Regions from separate parts of the Homo sapiens genome. Here region 2 is linked to region 1. The links are contacts of gene promoters, found by promoter capture Hi-C in blood cells and fetal thymus (Javierre and others, 2016). All regions are on one chromosome and are shown on one strand. The core of a region is centred on a gene start or on the middle of the fragment in contact, and the rest is flanking DNA. Distances in the headings are between cores, read along the strand shown.

Region 1 (4,059 bases), core at 1,442-3,941:
TGCCTAGGAGCCTAGAGACTAGCCTGCCAAGCCCATCATAGCCACCACTAACATTAGGAAGTGCACCTGGGAGCCTGAGTGTTATCCTGCACCACTGCTACCCTCACTCACACTATTCATGCTGCCCAGGGACCTGAGAACCTACCCACCCATCCAGCCCTCCACTGCCACTGCCAGTACCAAGAAATCTGCCTGGGATTGGCCCACCTGGACCTGCTAACACTGGTGCCCACATACACCATCCAGTGACCCAAGGTCACGTATGCATTGTCTGTCATTATCACTACAAGGGCTTGAGGAGTGGCCAACCTGGCATCCCTAACCCCAGCAAAGCCTCACCATAGCTTCCATTAGCAACTGCAGCCAAGCCACTGAGGAAATTACAGATACCACTGATGCTATTCACAGCCAAAGAGATTCATGGGATGGGGAGACAGGTCCTTGGGATTTTACTGTTGTCTAGGAAGCAGAATCTTTTCCAACTTTATTTCGTGTAAAGTGTTCATTACAGCATGAATACAAGATGTATTCAATCCACAAATACAACAGCCCACAGGCATTCAGGAGGTTGTACATCACAAAAGAGAAAAATCAAGACTAACAGCATAATGAACTGTTGTTTGGGGGAATTTGACCATCTGATTCTAAAATCTGTATGGAAATGAAAAGAACCAAAAATAGCCAAGACACTCACACACACAAAAAAGATAAGTGGGAAGATTTGGCTCTGTTGGAGACAGACTCATAGATAGATAGATAGATAGATAGATAGATAGATAGATAGATAGATAGATAGATGATAGATAGATCTTATTTAAAAGTTTATTAACTTATTATGAAGCTATAGCAGTAAGACAGCATGGCATTAGTGCAAGTATAGACAAATAGAACAATAGAACAGATTAAGGTTCCCAGCATCAGACTCACGCATATGTGGAGCCTGATTTAAAACAAAGGTGGCACAGCTAGACAGTAGAGAAACAACAATCTTTTCAATAATTTTTGGTCTTGAAACAATTGGTTTTCCATAGGGGAAAAGAAAACTAAATAGGACCCCTAATTTATACCATACACAGAAATCATCACAGGTGGTTATAGAGCTAAATGAGAAAGAAAAATAATAAAGAAAAAAGAAAGATAATATAGGAAATAGTTTTATGACCTGGGAGTAGGGAAAGATTAGTAAGCAAGAACCAGAAAATTAAGAATATGTGTGCTTACTGTATTGGCTGGGTGGGGTGGCTCATGCCTGTAATCCCAGCACTTTGGAAGGCTGAGGCAAGTGGATCCCCTGAGGTCAGGAGTTCCAGACCAGCCTGGCCAACGTGGCAAAACCCCATCTCTACTAAAAATACAAAAATTAGCCAGGTGTGGTGGTGGGCACCTGTAGTCCCAGCTACTTCGGAGGCTGAGGCAGGAGAATCGTTCGAACCCAGGAGATGGAGGTTGCAGTAAGCCGAGTTTGGGCCATTGCACTCCAGCCTGGGTGATGAGCAAGACTGTCTCAAAAAACAATAATAATAATAATATTGAGTACCTACTGTATGGCAGTGTGCGTGCAAAGCATTTTATAAGCTGTATCTCATTTCATCCTGAAAAAAAACCACGCATAACCTTCCAATGCACTTTTTGAGGAGTTCTTGAGGCTGAGATGCTAAATAATGCATCTGAGGGTCTAGGCCTGCAAAGCAGAGTGTACCCAGGAATACCATGCTCCACTGACACACCACACACAGCCCTGTGGTTGTTGGCTGCCTGCGTAAAAGCCTGCCTTAAGGGTCAGAACAAAATCAAAGTTAGTGTCATCTTCACCCTCAGACATCCCTCATCACCCCAAGAGAGACAGGCCTAAGGGCCCTTCTCCAGGGCTGAGTCTCTGTCACTCCAGAGAAGCCCTGTCTGGCTCCACTCTGGACACTGTGCATCCAACCTTGAACACAGCACTGAACCGACTCTTCTAAGGGAGAGTTTCAACTCCTCAACTCCAAAAAAGAAATCTCTCCTAGAACCTTCAGAGTCCCCTCATCCTAGCCAACGTTTCATACCAGCCATTTGGAGAACAAAGTCCATCAGTGAACTTTTCCAGGACTTTTTTTTTTTTTTTTTTTTGCAGTATCTGCCTTCAGCCAGGTAAATAAGTCAGCTGCTAGACAAGGAAGCTGTCCCTTCTCCACTAGTTCTGAGCCCCTACCTTCTCTTGGTCAGGCCACTGGTTGACAATTTGAGAGACTCCGTGTGTCGGAACTGTCTTTCCAGGCTTAAATTCAGCCTGTGTTTCATAACACCCTTTCTCTGCGCTCCTGAGCTTTCAGTGGTGCTCCAGAGGAAAGGAGAGACAGAGCAGACATTTTCACTGCCATGTTTATATCAAAGTACATTTGAAGGCAGAGGGAAAGCGCTCAGGCCTAGGCATGGGGATCCTGGTCTTTTCTCCTATTCTGCTATCAGGAAACGTGACAGCCTTAGCTGAGTCTCTGGTTTTCCCGCGGTTTGTAGAAAAGGAGGTAGCACTGAAAGGCCAGGGCCTTTTCTTCCTCGAATTCTGCAGAACCCTGTGATCTCCTCAGTCTGCCCCTCCAGGAAGAGTGAGGCCAGGGTCCAGCCCCACCCATCGCAGCCCAGCCCAGCTCTATAAAGGAGCCTCCCAGGCAGACACCACTGGGAGTTCCAACTCTGTGCCCTCTTCGGCCATGAACCTCTGTCTTTCTGCATTACTCTTTTTCCTGGTGATCTTACTGCCTTCAGGTAAGACAGTGGGCGTGAGTCTGAACATAAAAGTGGGTGTTCCCAAAGATTGAGATGCTTAAAAAACCCTCTAACTATAAGCCCAGCAACAGGACACCAATATCAAATGGGCCACCATGTTAGGGGCATGGTGAGCGGACCCCAGCTCCTGCCCTGCTCTGCTGTTGCTGCAGCTGGAAGATCTGCCAGTGCACCGGGGACGGGGGTGGATGTCATTGTGCACACAGATCGTGCAGCCACCCAGATTCCTATCTCCCCTCCAATGCCTCTGGCTACCCTGAGCTTTATCTGCCTTGCTGAGTTGTGATAAGAGGTGAGGTAAATCACAACTAACAAGCCATCAACCAGGAGGTGATGGCAAGCCTAGGATTTCTCCCAGCCTCATTAAGATTGATTTTTCTTTTCTGTGGTCTCTCCCCGCTTCAGGAAAAGGTATGTTTGGGAATGATGGAGTCAAAGTTCGCACCTGCACTAGCCAGAAAGCCGTATGTTTCTTCGGGTGTCCGCCAGGATACAGGTGGATTGCGTTCTGCCACAATATTCTGTCTTGCTGTAAAAATATGACACGTTTTCAACCCCCGCAAGCCAAAGATCCATGGGTTCATTAAAAGGATATGTGAATGGCTCAAAGTACTACACTCCTAATCTGTGTGTCAGGATCTTAGAGCTCGTAAGTGAGCCATGGGCAGAAATGAGGACCACATTCTGACAATTTACTGGCAAAATTCCAGAAACATTTTGTAAAGGCAGCACTGCCATGAAATGCATCCCCTGTTATTTTTCCTACCCTCCCATCTCCAATCACTCATTCCTCTTTCAAATTCAAATTCAGGCCAGGCGCAGTGGCTCACGCCTGCCCGCCTGTAATCCCAACACTTTGGGAGGCTAAGGTGAGCAGATCACTTGAGGTCAGGAGTTTGTGACCAGCCTGGCCAACATGGTGAAACCTCATCTCTACTAAAAATACAAAAATCTTCCGGGTGTGGTGGGTGCATGTAATCCTAGCTACTCAGGAGGCTGAGGCAGGAGAATTGCTTGAACCCGGGAGACGGAGGTTGCATTGAAAAGAGATCACGACACTGCACTCCAGCCTGGACAACAGAGTGAGATTCCGTCTCAAAAAATAATAATAAAAATTCAAATTCTATTGATTAATACAAGTTCACAGGCCCAAGCAATGATATATTCTGGCCATAGAAACAAAAGCTAACCACACACCAGTCACACACTTGAGTGGTTTACATCTATTAGGGAAATTACTCCACACAATAAAATCTACAATTTCTCCCATTTGGCAGATGAAGAATATTTTCC
Region 2 (4,543 bases), core at 534-3,033, 240 kb after region 1:
GTAATAGCAATGCTTCATCAGGCATCCTTGTACATGTCTGTTTATACACATGAGAAAAGTGTATCTAGGATATAGGAGATATATTTTAGCCATGTTCAAATGTATATGTATAAAACACTTATGCTTGGTTTGGTGCTGTTTAAGCTGTTATGCTGTAACAAACAAATAGTTATTTGTTTGCTGTTCACATTACATGTCAGCTGCAAGTTGGCCGAAATTCTATATGTATGCTTCAATTGGACATGCAGGCCGAAGGCAAAACCTCTATGTGGTTCATGCCAGCCTCGTGGCAGGGGGCAAAAAGTAATGACAGAACCACGTAATGGCTCTTAATGCCTCTGTGTGGAAGTTGCATAGTGACTTCGAGTCACATATTCTTGATCAAAGCAAGTCTCATAGCCAAGCCTGTGTCATCGGGGTGGTGGAAATAATCCTCACCAGAAATGGGCTCCCTCAGTACAGGAAAGAACAGAGCAGTGTGCTGAACACACGTGGGATCATACCATGGATACTCCTCTGCAGCTGTTTCTGCAGGGACGCATATCTGTTTAGACATTTTTCCATATCAGCACAGATCTACTTCTCTCTTCGAAGAGGATTTATTAGTTTGGCATTGTTAAGGCACATAACACTTACATTCTACTCCATAATTCTCACAGCTGTTTAGCTGTACATGATATTTGAAAGGATTCAATGCTAATGCCAATCTTTTTATGCCACAGCCTCCCCATTCCTAATACCTTGGCTGCATTTCAGCAAGTAATTTTTCACTGCTACACACAACAGGGCTGCAATGAACATCACTGCTTTAGCTTCCGTGCCAGTGTGTCTCTAGTTTGTTTTGATTTCTGATAAGGCAAGTTCCCCTTTCTTAAGTCTCCTTTTAAAAAATTATCTTGGCTATTCTTGTACAATAACTCTTTCATATAAATTTTATAATCAGCTGGACACGTTGTATTTAAGAAATCTTGCTGGGATGTTTCCTGAGACTGTGTTAAATTTATAGATTTGTTTGAGGGAGTTTGGAATAAAGAATGCTGCCAACTTTTCCAATCCAAGGATCTAGTATCTTTCTCCATTTATTCATGTCTTCTTTTATGCCCTTCAGTAAAGCTTTATAGCTCCCTCCACAGGGAATTTACATTTGTTTAGTGAAGTTGACCAGTATTTTATCTGCAAATAATGAAAACATTGCCGCTTTCTTTCCTATCTCATTCATTTTATTAACAAGGAAATTTACTCCTGGCAACCCTAACCCACATGTGATGGTATTTGGAGGTTGGGCATTTGGGAGGCGAACAGGCAGGAGAGCTGAGAGGTATGGACCAGCTCTCGAAGTCTTTCCCTCCATGTGGTCTGGATTTATATTATATTCGGCAGTTTTCTATAGTTGGGGATATGAGTTATCTCTTAATTTCACTGCAGATAAAAGTTTTACTTGATTTGGGGGGTTCTTTTCATCTGATGTGCTGGTCTTCGGGGAGGAAAGGGAGAAAGCAAACCTTTACTCTGCTAGCCTTCGCAGGAAGTCTCTACCTCCTCTTCAGACCAGACACACATCCTCCTCAAATTCCGTCGGCTCCTCTTCCTCTAGCCTCCAGACTCGGGTTCACCTGACGTGTTCATGAATCTTTATGGCAATCAATCACATCTATCTTGAATTATCTATTTTATCCTTGTTTTGCAATAGCAGTTAGTTTTTTGGTGTTACTTCACGTTTTCTTCCCAACCTCTCTCCTTCTGTTTTGTTTTGTTGCTCTAGCCTCAGAATTCTTTAGCCAAGCAAATCAAACATTTACAAATCAAATATAAAGTAGATGAAACGGAGCTTCTCTGCAATAGGGGCCCCACAGACCCTGCTCTCAGCCTTCCTCCCATCTAAAGCACCTGCACTGAAATCAGTGCCCCTGGAGAATAGTTCGATGACAATACGTCTAGTAGTTCCATCTGCCTTTTTACAAATACATTTCACTTACTTGGCAGACATCTTAGGTAGAGCATGAAGCTGCTACAAAATCTACAGTCTTTTATTACACATGGTTAATAGCTTTAATCCAATCTGATTTGCATTCCAAAGAAATTTTAAAAGTGCATCCACTCCTATATTTTATGAATGTGACTTAAAATTTTAATGCAGATTATAAATATGATAGATTTGCAGATCAAAACTCGGTTGCTTGTAGTACAACATTTAAAAATCACCATTTTCCACCTCCTCACCAAGGATAACCTTCTCCTTAGTGATCAGCCCTGCTGTGATAGCAGGATAACACTGAGGCTTGGGCAAAGAGAAACACTGAAGAGCCAGAAAGGCAATCTTGTAGAACCAATTCTGGATGGCTAGTTCTACCTAATCGTCCATCAATGCTACTTACACCTTTGGCCAAAGAAGCAAATAGAATGAAGTGTTAGGAAAAAGGTTTTCACAATTTACTTTCTACTTACTAAGCTTGTACACTGCCTCTCCATTTTTCTCTTCTTTAAATTGTGATAAAATACATATAAAATTAGCCATCTTAACCATTTTTAAGTGTACAGTTCAGTGATAGTAAATGTGTTCACACTGTTGTGAAACTAATCTCTACAACTGTTTTCATCGTGCAAAACTGAAACTCTGCACCCATTAAACTCTAACTCCCCATCCTCCCGCACCCCGATCCTGGCCCCACCACCTGGCAACCCCTCTTCTGCTTTCTGTCGTCATGAATTTGACGGCTCTGGGGGCCCCACAGAAGTGGGATCATAGAGTGTTTGTCCTTTGGTGACTGGCTTGTTTCACTTAGCGTAATGTCTTCAGGATTCATCTGTTGTAGCAGTGCAAGACTTCCTTTTTAAGGCTGAGTAATACTCCACTGAGCACACAGACCACATTTGTTCATTCATTCATCCACGGATGGACACCTAGGCTACTTCCACCTTTTGGATATTGTGTCTCTCTCTTTTAATCAATAATGCGCTCATTTTTACAAGAAAATAAACATTGGGAATAAATGTAAACTCAAAATACATCAATCAAATGTGGATCACTGTGGTTTTGCTGATCCAGCCAGGAAACTCCTCAAAACCGGGTCTTCATAAGACTCAGTCTTCCAGGAGGAAACTCAGAGGCAGTGGTAGCTGCAATATTATTCTCTTGCTGACCAAGAGTGAACAGATTACAGGTAAGGAAATGAAAAACCAGAAAAGTCAGGACCAAAGGAGAATCCTGCAGCAACAAATGGAGAGGGAAGGAAGACTGCCCGAGAAGCTCGCCCTGACAGAGCCGTCCAGGCACGCGGGCTGCACCTCAGTGGGCACTGGGCCACATGCCCTGAAATGTGAGCTCCCAAGGCAGATGACACGAGACAAACAGAGAGGGCACTGGCCGGGGAAGTCAGGCTGACCTAGGTCCCGCCAGCCTCGGGCCTTCTGTGGCCTTGGGCAGGTCCCTGTGACCTGGGTTTCTTCTCCTGCCCATGGACATTACAGTTCCTGCCCACAGGACAGTCGCTGGAATAAATAACAAAACAATGCCAGGGCAGCAGGAAACATCCTAAGCGCTCAGTGTTGGCTGGGCCTCAGTGCTACCACCAAATATCATCCCTTTTCCCACAGCTGCTCTGCTGACCAGGCTGGCCATGGCCTGAACACCCAGGAGCCATCCTCCTCTTCGCTGTCTGCACCTCTGCCTAGTTCTTGTCCTCAGGCCCCTACGTGGAGGCCAGACAAAGCTCCCAGCTCCTGACCAGAACAGTACAAATAATCACTCTTCAGATCCCCCTGTTTCACATTCTATTCCGATTTTTAGTAAAATCATTAAAACATCCCCGACAGTGACTGTTCACCTTCACTGAATCTCACAGATCATCAGAGGTAGAAGGGCCCATAGATCTAAGAGGTGTCTGGTTTCAGTTCACTCATCTTCACAAGAATCGAAAGCCTAGGCAAGCCCACTTGGCTCCTCTGAGATGGACACCACGTCCCTGTCACTCCTGCAGCGAAGACAGCTGGATCCTTACTCCAGCCCACAAAACCACTCACTGAGGCCAGGCACGATGGCTTATGCCTGTAATCCCAGCACATTGGGAGGCTGAGGCAGGAGTATCACTTGAGCTCATGAGTTCAAGACCAGCCTGGGCAACATGGCAAAACCCTACCTCCAAAAAATATAGACGTTAGCTGGGCATGGTAGTAATTCCAGCTACTCAGGAGGCTGAGGTGTGAGGATTCCTTGAACCCTGGAGGTAAAGACTGCAGTGAGCCATGATCACGCCACTGCACTCCAGCCTGGGCAATGGAGCAAGACCTTCTCTCAAAAACAATAGAAACAACGACAACAAATAGTAAGTGGTAGGAATATCCAGGAATTATATATTGGGTTTAAAAACCAAAAATGTATAACGACTAACTAATAAGTAACTCCTCATTTTCCTTCCTTCTCCAAACTCACTCAGAATTGAGCAACCACCATGGGTCAGATGCATTTCCAGGCGGAAATTCACAAGGCAGCGGACTTAACCCCTGCTTTTCAGCGAACACAATTTTGCATCATGATAATTCAAGC

Evidence for each region. The method cuts DNA at HindIII sites, captures the fragments that hold promoters and counts their contacts. A CHiCAGO score of 5 or more calls a contact.
Region 2: a fragment that was not itself captured here is called in contact with the fragment with the promoter of DEFB136 in region 1 in 16 of 17 cell types (erythroblasts, neutrophils, non-activated CD4 T cells and 13 more); the score reaches 8.6 in erythroblasts.

The regions. Positions count from the first base shown.
Region 1 is chr8:11,973,231-11,977,289 of GRCh38, reverse strand. It overlaps DEFB136 (defensin beta 136), which reads left to right and starts at 2,691. Exons shown (of 2, transcript NM_001033018.2): 1 at 2,691-2,745; 2 at 3,172-3,353. The coding sequence starts at 2,691. The coding sequence ends at 3,353. The HindIII fragment of the contact is 18,049 bases long and covers 1-4,059 here.
Region 2 is chr8:11,729,694-11,734,236 of GRCh38, reverse strand. All of the region lies in intron 2 of GATA4 (GATA binding protein 4), which reads right to left. Among named protein-coding and RNA genes, the nearest start is that of SNORA99, 27 kb to the right of the region's middle. The HindIII fragment of the contact is 1,336 bases long and covers 1,116-2,451 here.